3 separate regions of the Homo sapiens genome follow, and regions 2 and 3 are each linked to region 1. Evidence: promoter capture Hi-C in human tissues and cell types (Jung and others, 2019). All regions are on one chromosome and are shown on one strand. The core of a region is centred on a gene start or on the middle of the fragment in contact, and the rest is flanking DNA. Distances in the headings are between cores, read along the strand shown. Region 1 holds the start of PALM3 (paralemmin 3). Region 2 has its middle 60 kb from the start of LINC01842. Region 3 overlaps CC2D1A (coiled-coil and C2 domain containing 1A).

Region 1 (3,587 bases), core at 681-3,180:
GCATGGACGGGCGCTGATCAAACCCTCAAACATTTATTAATTTGAACAGTCACCCTACTGGGTAAGCCTCATTGCCTGAACTCCAGCTAGGACCTTCCAGATCTTCTGTGGCCACAACGTGAAGGCTATTAGCACTTATAGTGCTATATATATGATATATATATACTATATATAGCATATAGTGTTCTAAGTGCCCCACGGGGTTTCCGCTAGGTTCCCACAGCCACCTCTGCCTCCCCCTCCCTGCCTCTATCATGACACAGTGGAGTCAACTCTTTGCTGAGTTGACATTCCAGCTAAGAACAAAATCAGCCAACCATTAGCTAGCCCGTAACACGTGCCAGGTGCAATGTAATTCACTGAATCCTCCCAACGACTCTAGGAGGTAAGCTATATGAATGTGTCCATTTTATGGATGGGAAAACTGAGGTTCTGAGAAGTGGCAGCAGTGTCCAAGGTCATGGAGCCAAGATCAGAACTTGAAGCTATCAGATCCAAAATACTGAGAACACAGCTGGCGAGGGGGGTGGGGGTGCAGGTCTAGGAATCCCCATCAAGGTAGCTAAGAGAGCAGCCTGGAGACCCTGAATGCTGTTTGGGGCAAGGAATTGAAGTCATGCTCTTTCTTTTTTTGAGTCGGAGTCTCGCTCTGTCACCCAGGCTGGAGTGCAATGGCTCAATCTCAGCTCACTGCAACCCCCGCTTCCTGGGTTCAAGTGATTCTCCTGCCTCAGCCTCCTGAGTAGCTGAGATTACAGGCGTGCACCACCAAGCCCGGCTAATTTTTGTATTTTTAGTACAGATGGGGTTTCACCATACTGGCCAGGCTGGTCTCGAACTCCTGACCTCAGGTGATCTGCCCGCCTCGGCCTCCCAAAGTGCTGGGATTACAGGCGTGAGCCACCGTGCCCGGCCACGAAGTCATGCTTTGCAAGATATCCCAAAGGAAGCCCAGATTCTGTGCTTATAGGTTTGCCCCTGGGGGAGGGCTGAAGTCCCGTGGTCTCCTGTACCACCCCCAAGATGTAATCTCCCTGCCTCTTCCTTGCTGGGGGGGATCGGGTTCCCATTGCTAAGCAACCAGGTTTGTAGTTGGTGAATAATGCAATGGAGGACCTAGAAGGGTGAGGAACCGAATTGGGGTCCCTAGTGTGGGGGGAAGCCCCTTTTCCAAAACTCTTTCCAAACCTCTGAAGCCCCCTCTACCCTTTTAACCTTAAAAAACTCTCACCCCTCAGCTATGAAAAGACTTCACACACCCCATTCCATCTTGCTTATCTCTAACTAACTCTGGAAGAACAACGTAGGCGGCCTGGGCTTCTGGCCACCCGCAAGAGTTGGTGGCCATTTCATGAAGGAGGTCATCCTTGCAATGTTGCCATTGTCTTTCTCAGGCTGGGAGCTTTTAACTTCTGTTGGATCTCAAGCCTTTTCTCCCACCTTGGACACTGACTTTAGGGGCAAAACGTGGAACCCAGTGACCCTGACCTTCCCCACTCCCTGCACCACAGCAGTAGCCCCACCCCCTGGCTGGACTTTGGGTTCTCAGCCCTGGCAGCGGAAAATCCCCGAAGAGGAAGGGGCAGGGGGAGCCTATATCTCTCTCCCACCCCTTGACTCTTTAAGGAAGGGTGACACTGATGAGCCTATGGGGTTGGCTAGCCAACCCCTCCACTCCCCGGGTCCCCTTAGGAGAGACCACTGGAGCTCTCGGCTCCCAGACAAGGCCAGCATCCCCCATGAGCCCCTCCCAAGGCCCTGCCCACCAGCCCCCCTGACCCCCCAGACACTTACATGGGTGTGGCCAGAGACCACACCTGGCTCTGCAGGGCCATCTCTGCCCAGAAGTTCACTTTCTGGTCTCCGAGTTCTGGACCCACCACCCGCTTGCCTGAAGGTGCCCCGGAGGCTGTGACTTGGCTGCCTGGAGTGGGGGGGGGCTGCGGGCGGGCACCGGGAGAGCAGGTCCAGCGGGTTTGGGCCAGGGAGGCGGTAGGCACACCAGAGAGGGGGGCTGGGGGCTGGAGGGCAGTTCTGGGGAGGTACTATCAGCTGTCCTGATAAATTATTCACCAGCCTCTGGCCTCTTTGTTGCACTCAGCTGCCTCCCGGAAAACACTTTCACACACGCGTGGTCAAGCGTGGGGGTGAGAGTACTGAGTCGGTGACTCCCCCTGCCACCAGAGAATGGCATTTCTACTTGGCACCCCAATCATCTTGAGTCTGACTGCCTGCCAAGACTCACCCACAGGAGAGCACCATTGCATAGCACACAGGCTGGAGACTGTTTTATTTTTTTAGAGATGGGGGTCTCACTCTGTTGCCCAGGCTAAAATGTAGTAGTGCGATCATAGCTCACTGCAGTTTCAGACTCCGGGGCGCAAACAATCCTCCCTCCTCGGCTTCTCAAAGTGCTGGGATTACAGGCATGAGCCACCACATCTGGCAGATAACATTTTTTAAAATTATTTTTTAAGAACAGGCACAGTGGTGCATATGTGTAATCCTAGCACTTTGGGAGGCCCAGGTGGGTGGATCACCTGAGGGCGGAGTTCGAGACTGGTCTGACCAACATGGTGAAACCCCGTCTCTGCTAAATACAAAAAAAAACTTAGCCGGGCATGGTGGTGCATGCCTGTAACCTCCGCTACTTGGGAGGCTGAGGCAGAAGAATCACTTGAACCCAGGTGGCAGAGGTTGCAGTTAGCCAAGATCGCACCATTGCACTCCAGCCTGGGCAACAAGAGCAAAACTCTGTCTAAAAAAAAAAAAATTACTTTTTGAGCCAGGCACGGTGGCTCACGCCTGTAATCCCAGCACTTTGGGAGGCCGAGGTGGGCGGATCACGAGGTCAGGAGTTTGAGACCAGCCTGGCCAACATGGAGAAAGCCTGCCTCTGCTAAAGATACACATTAGCCAGGTGTGGTGGCACACCTGTAGTCCTAGCTACTCGGGAGGTTGAGGCAGGAGAATTGCTTGTACCCAGGAGGCGGAGATTGCAGGGAGCTGAGATCATGCCACTGCACTCCAGCCTGGGTGACGGAGCAAGACTCCGTCTGAAAAAAAAAAATTACTTTTTGATCGTGGTAAAATACACATAACAAAATTTACCATTAGTGGCATTTAGTATGTTCACAATATTATGCAATCCTCACCACTGGTTCAGAATATTTTCATCAACCCAAAAGGAAGTGATCACTACTCATTCCCCTGCCTCCCGTGCCTGGCAACCACCAATCTGTGTCCATCTCTATGGATTTGCCTATTCTGGACTTTTTGTTTTTCTTTTTTGTTTGTTTGTTTTTTTAGATGGAGCCTCACTCTATCGCCCAGGCTAGAGTGCGATGGGCACAATCTTGGCTCACTGCAACCTCCACCTGCTGGGTTCAAGCAATTTTCCTGCCTCAGCCTCCCAAGTAGCTGGGATTACAGGCACCCGCCATCACGCCCAGCTAATTTTTGTATTCTTGTAGAGACAGGGTTTCACCATGTTGGCCAGGCTGGTCTTGAACTTCTGACCTCAGGTGATCCATCCTCCTTGGCCTCCCAAACTGCTGGGATTACAGGCGTCAGCCACTGTGCCCGGA
Region 2 (3,587 bases), core at 528-3,027, 210 kb after region 1:
GCCAATCCCCTGCTCTGCCTACACTCTGATCACATGAGCCCTAACACTTCCTCCTAAGGGCTGGAGAACAATTGTTTGCTACAGGGAGAAAAATCCTCAAGCCAGAGAGCTGAGCCATTAGACTCCTGGGTCCTGAGGAGAGCCCGGAGCTGAGGTTTCAGAAATGTCTTCTCACCTCTTCATCCCTTGGGCTGCCTCCTGTCACTTCCCGGGGTCTCTGAGTCCCCTCTGCACTCAGAAGCTCCCAGGGAGGACCAGCCAGACAGGGCTCAGGACACTTACAGGCAAACCTCCACTCCTCCCGCCCTGACCAGTTAACGCGACACTTATTCTACATTAAATACCAATTGGACCAATTTTCTGCTGTAATTAAAACCTCTGCAGACGTGTTCCCTGCTCAGCAGTGATGAGTTTATTAACCTCCAGCTCTGAAGGAATGTGGGGGCAGGGGAGAGGGAAGGAAAGAAGAGAGTTTTCCAGATTAGGAGATTGGACCCAGGGAGAGGGTGGGTTTGGAGCTGTGCTGTCTCCTAGCTGGGCTCTGAGCAAGAGACAGATGGGGGTGTGTGCGAAAGCATTAACATCTGTGTGTTTGCTGCCTCTGCAGTGGGGACTTGCAAATATCTACCCCCACCACCCTGACCTGCTACAGAACCAGGACTGCCCTCCCATAATCAAGTGTGTTTTATAGCCCTACTTCCCAAATTATTGGCAGGCAGCATGTCCTGAATCTGGAAATACAGCCTCTTTCAGTTCAACAATCTGGCCTTGTATGGGATCGTTTGTTACGTAGCATAACTTAGGTTATCTGACTATTACATATTGTATCTCCACTTCATAGCTGGTGAAACAGGCACATGCCACCATGCCCAGATAATTTTCTCCTCTGGGCAGGAGACAGATGGAGGCGTGTCCAAAAGCATTGACAACTATTGTGTTTGCCGCTTCTGTGGTGGTGACTTGGAAGTATCTGAACCCCCATCACCCTGACCTCAGTTTCACAACAGAGGCCCAGTTTGCATACAAACCTAGGTGAGGTCATGAAGGGTTCATAGCTTGCAGCCATAGAGGCTGGAAATCAATGCCTAGTACATCCCTGGCAGCTCAAGGAGTCAGCTCATTTCTGTTCATTAGAGATCACAGAATCATCACGTTCTCTCTCTCTTTTTTTTTGAGATGGAGCCTCGCTTTGTCACCTAGGCTAGAGTGCAGTGGCGCAATCTCGGTTCACTGCAACCTCCGCCTCCAGGATTCAAGCGATTCTCCTGCCTCAGCCTCCCGAGTAGCTGGGACTACAGGAATGTGCCACTACGCCCCGCTAATTTGTTTGTATTTCAGTAGAGACGGGGTTTGACCATTTTGGCCAGGCTAGTCTCAAACTCCTGACCTCAGGTGATATGCCCACCTCGGCCTCCCAAAATGCTAGGATTACAGGTGTGAGCCGCCATGCTTGGCTATTCTTTTTTTTTCTGAGATGAGATTTCACTGTCCTCCAGGCTGGAATGCAGTGGGGCAATCATAGCTCACTGCAGCCTCAAACTCTTGGGCTCAAGCCATCCTCGGCCTCCAGAGTAGCCGGGACCACAGGTGCACACCACCATGCCTGGCTAATATTTTTTTTTTTTTACTGCTTGTAGAGATGGGGGTCTCACTATGTTGCCCAGGCTGGTCTCAAAACTCCTGGGCTCAAGCAATCCTCCTGCCTCAGCCTCTCAAAGTGCTGGGATTACAGGCGTGAGCCGCAGCGCCCCGTCCTGCTCATTTCCTTTTATTACCAACAATTCTCCATTCTTTATTTTTAATATCCCCTTCATTCACCAGGGCTCAACTTTGTCATCCAACTTTTATTGCTTTGTGGGGAGGAACGCAACCAAAGAGACACTGGGAGGCAATGACCTCATGGAACAAGGAAGCTGTGTTGGACATCTGGAATGGAGTTGGATTTCCACCATGGCCCAAAACACTTCCAATTCCTCCTTCTAGCATGTTTCGAACCCTGTGGCCAACACTGCCATTTGTCACCTTTTTGAATGTGTTGGATTATCTGTTAGCCTATCTACATCTTGTTTTCCTGTGTATTTCAGGGGCTGGAATTCTGGCAACTACTCCTTGTCTAAGATTCTGTTGCCAGGAGGGTTACAGGGTGGATTCTATAAATGAGGAGCATCAGATCGTCGTGGTGGCTCACACCTGTAATCCCAGTACTTTGGGAGGCCAAGGCAGGCGGATCGCTTGAGCTCAGGAGTTCGAGACCAGCCTGGGCAACACGGTGAAAGCCCATCTCTACTAAAAATACAAAAAATTAGCAGGGTGTGGTGGCACATGCCTGTAATCCCAGCTACTTTGGAGGCTGAGGCGGGAGGATCACTTGAGCCTGGGAGGCAGAGGTTGCAAGTGAGCTGAGATCACACCATTGCACTCCAGCCTGGGTGACAAGAGTGACACTCCGTCTCAAAAAAAAAAAAAAAAAAAAAAGAGAGCGAGAACATGTGGCCTGCAAAGACAGAAATATTTAGATTCTGATCCTTGATGGAAAAAGTTTTCCATCCTCTGCTCTTGACTTCATTTGGTCATTCCCACAATGAATAAGTTAGTTCTAGGATCTTGGAGCAAACATGTCTGTATTAGTCTGTTTTCACACCGCTATAAAGAACTATGTGAGAGTGAGTAATTTATGAAGAAAAAAGGTTTAATTGACTCACAGTTCCGCATGGCTGATGGGGCCTCAGGAAACTTACAATCATGACAAAAAGTGAAGGGAAAGCAAGGCACATCGTACATGGAGGCAGGGGAGAGAGAGAGAGAGAGAGAGAGAGAGAGAGAGGAGAGAGAGAGAGAGAGAGAGAGAGAGAGAGAGAGAGAGAGAGAGAGAGAGAGAGAGAGAGGAAGTGCCAGACGCTTATCAAACAACCAGATCTGGTGAGAACTCATTGTCACGAGAATAGCAAGGGGGAAATGCTCCCGTGATCCAATCTCCTCCCACCAGGTCCCTCCCCTCGACACGTGGGGATTACAATTCTAGATGCGATTTGGGTGGAGACACAGTCAAACATGTCAGTGTTCTTTCTCTAAGGCTCCATTTTGTCCTCTGTAAAATGGGGTGAGAGGCCCCTACTTAACTGCACGAGCTTGCTCTGCAATTAAAATTGCATGTCATGGGCCAAGGGACTTTGAAAGTGGGACAGCTCCTGCAGGTGCTTTTGGCTGGAGTCACAGGATCCAAAACCCCCCAGTAATCCCCACATCTTTCCTTTCTTTTCTCTCTCTTTTCTTTTTTCTCTTTCTCTTTCTTTCTTTTCTTTCTCTCTTTCTTTTTCTCTTTCTTCCCCCTCTCTCCTTCCCTTCCCTTCCCTCCCTCCCTCCCTTCCTTTTCCTTTTTTCTGAGAAAGAGTCTCGCTCTTATCACCCAGGCTGGAGTGCAGTTTCGTGATCTTGGCTCACTGCAACGTCTGCCTCCTGGATTCAAGCTGTTCTCCTGCCTCAGCCTCCTGAGTAGCTGGGATTACAAGCGCCCACCACCACGCTCAGCTAATTTTTGTACTCTTAGTAGAGATAGGGTTTTGACATGTTGACCAGGCTGGTCTCGA
Region 3 (3,587 bases), core at 516-3,015, 150 kb before region 1:
CCAGGTTGAACTGTGCCAGAGGGCCTGGCCTATCTTGGAACACCTGTTCTGGGCTTGTTCCAGCCTCCTGGCACTCCCCAGGGAAATGGCTTTCCCTGGGAGACCTTGTTTCCTTCCTCCCAAGGGGACTCTCTGGCCATCATGGCTGCCTCTAGCCATGTGGTGAACCAAAGGTCTGACTGAACCCTTGCTGTTCCCCTAGCTGGGCCTGCTGGTTGACCTCTCCCCAGATGGCCTGATGATCCCTGAGGACGGGGCTAACGATGAAGAACTGGAGGCTGAGTTCTTGGCTTTGGTCGGGGGCCAGCCCCCAGCCCTGGAGAAGCTCAAAGGCAAAGGTGAGATGGTTAACACACCCTCAGAACATTTTCTGATCTCCTGCAAGTGGTTCGGGCGCAGAACTGGGGGCACTGGGTAGGTAGGGGAAAGAAGACAGAGAAGACCCCTGTTCTCCTGGAGCCAATGATCTGGGTAAGAGAGTCAAGATCGACTCTGAGGCCGGGCACGGTGGCTCACGCCTGTAATCCCAGCACTTTGGGAGGCCGAGGCAGGCAGATCATGAGGTCAGGAGATTGAGACCATCCCGGCTAACACGGTGAAACTCTGTCTCTACTAAAAATACAAAAAAAAAAAAAAAATTAGCCGGGCGTGGTGGCGGGCGCCTGTAGTCCCAGCTACTCAGGAGGCTGAGGCAGAAGAATGGCGTGAACCAGGGAGGCGGAGCTTGCAGTGAGCCGAGATCGCACCACTGCGCTACAGCCTGGGCGACAGAGCAAGACTCCGTCTCAAAAAAAAAAAAAAAAAAAAAAAGATCAAGTCTGGACCGAGACTGAGAGTTGGAATCCGAGCTCTGCCACTTACTGGTTATGTGACTTGATGAGTCACATCATGTGCTTTGGCCTCAGTTTCACCATCTGTAAAACTGGAATAATAACCATGTTATAGGAGTTAATCTGGAGTCCATAAGTATTTCACCCAGGGCCCCCTCACACACAATAAGCTCATGTCAGCCAGGCACATTGGCTCATGCATGTAATCCCAGCACTCTGGGAGGCCAAGGTGGACAGATCACTTGGGGCCAGGAGTTCGAGACCAGCCTGGCCAACATGGTGAAACCCTGTCTTTACTAAAAATACAAAAATTAGCCAAGCTTGGTGGCGAACACCTGTAATCCCAGCTACTTGGGAGGCTGAGGCATGAGAATCGCTTGAATCCAGGAGGCAGCAGTTGCAGTGGGCAGAGATTGCGCCACTGCACTCCAGCCTGGGTGACAGAGCAAGATCCTGTTTCCAAAAAACAAAAAAGAGAGAAGCTTCATTCAGGCATGAACTACTGTGCTGTTGGCTGTGAATTCAAAGTTAATGAATGAACGATATCTATTCAGGAAGGTGTCTTCAAACAGAAACACACATAGAGCAAGGTTGTGTATTGATCAGTTGATTAAAATTTTGTGACCAGAGCTGGGTGTGGTGGTGCATGCCTGTAATCCCAGCTACTCGGGAGGCTGAGGCAGGAAGATCACTTGAGGCCAAGAGTTTGAGGCTGCAGTGAGCTCTGATTGGGCCACTGCACTCCAGCCTGGGTGACAGAGCAAGATCCTGTCTCCAAAAAAGGTTATGACTGGAGATTCACAGGAACCTAAGCTTAAATTTCCCCTAGGAGCAACAGTCTTATAGTCATTAATTTAGTCTTCAAAGCAGCTTTATAGAATGTAACATAACTAATAACAAGATATTGGCAATATGCTATTCTAAGAGCTTCATTGACCTTCTCTGCTCCAACCTACCTATGAAGGAGGAACTGTTGTCATCCCCGTGTCACAGAGGGAGAAACTGAGGCTCAGAGAGGTGACATCACTTGCCGAAGTTCTCACAGAGAGAAAGTTGCAGAGCTGGGGTTTTTTTTGTTGTTGTTGTGTGTGTGTGTTTTTTTTTTTTTTTTTGGAGACAAACCCTTGCTCTGTTGCCCAGGCTGCAGTGCAGTGGCGCAATCTCAGCTCACTGCGACCTCTGCCTCCTGGGCTTAAGTGATTCTCCTGCCTCAGCCTCTTTAGCAGCGGGGATTACACGCCACCATGCCCAGCTAATTTTTTTTTTTTTTTTTTTTTTTTTTTGAGACGGAGTCTCGCTCTGTCGCCCAGGCTGGAGTACAGTGGCGCGATCTTGGCTCACCGCAAGCTCCGCCTCCTAGGTTCACGCCATTCCCCTGCCTCAGGCTCCCGAGTAGCTGGGACCACAGGCGCCCGCCAGCATGCCTGGCTAATTTTTTGTATTTGTAGTAGAGACGGGGTTTCACCGTGTTAGCCAGGATGGTCTCGATCTCCTGACCTTGTGATCCACCCGCCTCGGCCTCCCAAAGTGCTGGGGTTACAGGCGTGAGCCACTGCGCCCAGCCTAATTTTTGTATTTTTAGTAGAGACAGGGTTTCACCATGTTGGCCAGGCTGGTCTTGAACGCCTGACTTCAAGTGATCCTTCTGCCTCGGCCTCCCAAAGTGCTGGGATTATAGGCGTGAGTCACTGTGCCCGGTCTGCAGAGCTGGGTTTTGAATTCAGGTAGCCAGGCCCCAGACCTGAGGCTGAATAAGGAAGAGATGAAATGGGGAAGTCAGCGAGAAGTGGGATCACCTAGCGTGTCCAGGATGGGAAATGGGGGCTCTTGGTGTACGACCCTGGTCCACCTGGGGCATCCCCCTACCGCCAGGTCCCTTGCCGATGGAGGCCATTGAGAAGATGGCCAGCCTGTGCATGAGAGACCCGGATGAGGATGAGGAGGAGGGGACGGATGAGGACGACTTGGAGGCTGATGATGACCTGCTGGTGAGCACTGAGGGCGGGGTGGGGGCTCTGATCCGGTTGCCCCCATCCAGCAGGCCCTTATATCCTGCCCTGGCTGTGTGTCCCTGCAGGCGGAGCTAAATGAGGTCCTTGGAGAGGAGCAGAAGGCTTCAGAGACCCCACCTCCTGTGGCCCAGGTACAGTTTGGATGACTCCACTCCCTTGAACCACAACCCAACGGACAGCCCGGGGTTCAAGACCTAGCCTTTTTTATGAGATGGAGTCTTGCTGTGTCACCCAGGCTGGAGTGCAGTGGTGCCATCTCAGCTCACTACAACCTCTGCCTCCCAGGTTCAAGGGATCCTCCCACCTCAGCCTCCCCAGTAGCTGGGATTACAGGTGTGTGCCACCACGCCTGGCTAATTTTTGTATTTTTTGGTAGAGATGGTGTTTCTCTGTGTTGGCCAGGCTGGTCCTGACCTCAAGTGATCCACCTGCCTTGGCCTCCCAAAGTGTTGGGATTACAGGCGTGAGCCACCGCGCCTGGCCCACCCTTATCCTTCACAGCCATGTGACCCATATCAGGTGGGTGACATGATGCTTCTGAAACCCCATTCCCTCCACTGGGAAATGGGGACCATGATTTCTGCCTCACTGGGGCAGGGGAGGCTGGTCCAGGGATGACATGGGGCCGACTGTTACTGCAGAAGGGGCTAACAGGGGCATCCCAAGTGGGGTCACCACCCACACTGTGCCCCTGCCCTCCCACAGCCGAAGCCTGAGGCCCCTCATCCGGGGCTGGAGACCACCT

What was found. Contacts are between HindIII fragments. The study calls those that stand out against the background at their distance.
Region 2: a fragment that was not itself captured here is called in contact with the fragment with the promoter of PALM3 in region 1 in 1 of the 25 tissues and cell types used here (spleen).
Region 3: a contact is called between a fragment that was not itself captured here and the fragment with the promoter of PALM3 in region 1, in 9 of the 25 tissues and cell types used here (IMR-90 fibroblasts, aorta, bladder and 6 more).

The regions. Positions count from the first base shown.
Region 1 is chr19:14,060,146-14,063,732 of GRCh38, forward strand. It overlaps PALM3 (paralemmin 3), which reads right to left and starts at 1,931. Exons shown (of 7, transcript NM_001145028.2): 1 at 1,795-1,931. The coding sequence starts at 1,835. RefSeq lists an enhancer at 1,872-2,426. The HindIII fragment of the contact is 26,422 bases long and covers 1-3,587 here.
Region 2 is chr19:14,272,042-14,275,628 of GRCh38, forward strand. No RefSeq gene overlaps it. Among named protein-coding and RNA genes, the nearest start is that of LINC01842, 60 kb to the right of the region's middle. The HindIII fragment of the contact is 5,931 bases long and covers 1-3,587 here.
Region 3 is chr19:13,909,621-13,913,207 of GRCh38, forward strand. CC2D1A (coiled-coil and C2 domain containing 1A) reads left to right here. Exons shown (of 29, transcript NM_017721.5): 2 at 203-338; 3 at 2,703-2,818; 4 at 2,908-2,973; 5 at 3,548-3,587. Among named protein-coding and RNA genes, the nearest start is that of CC2D1A, 5.2 kb to the left of the region's middle. The HindIII fragment of the contact is 5,078 bases long and covers 1-3,587 here.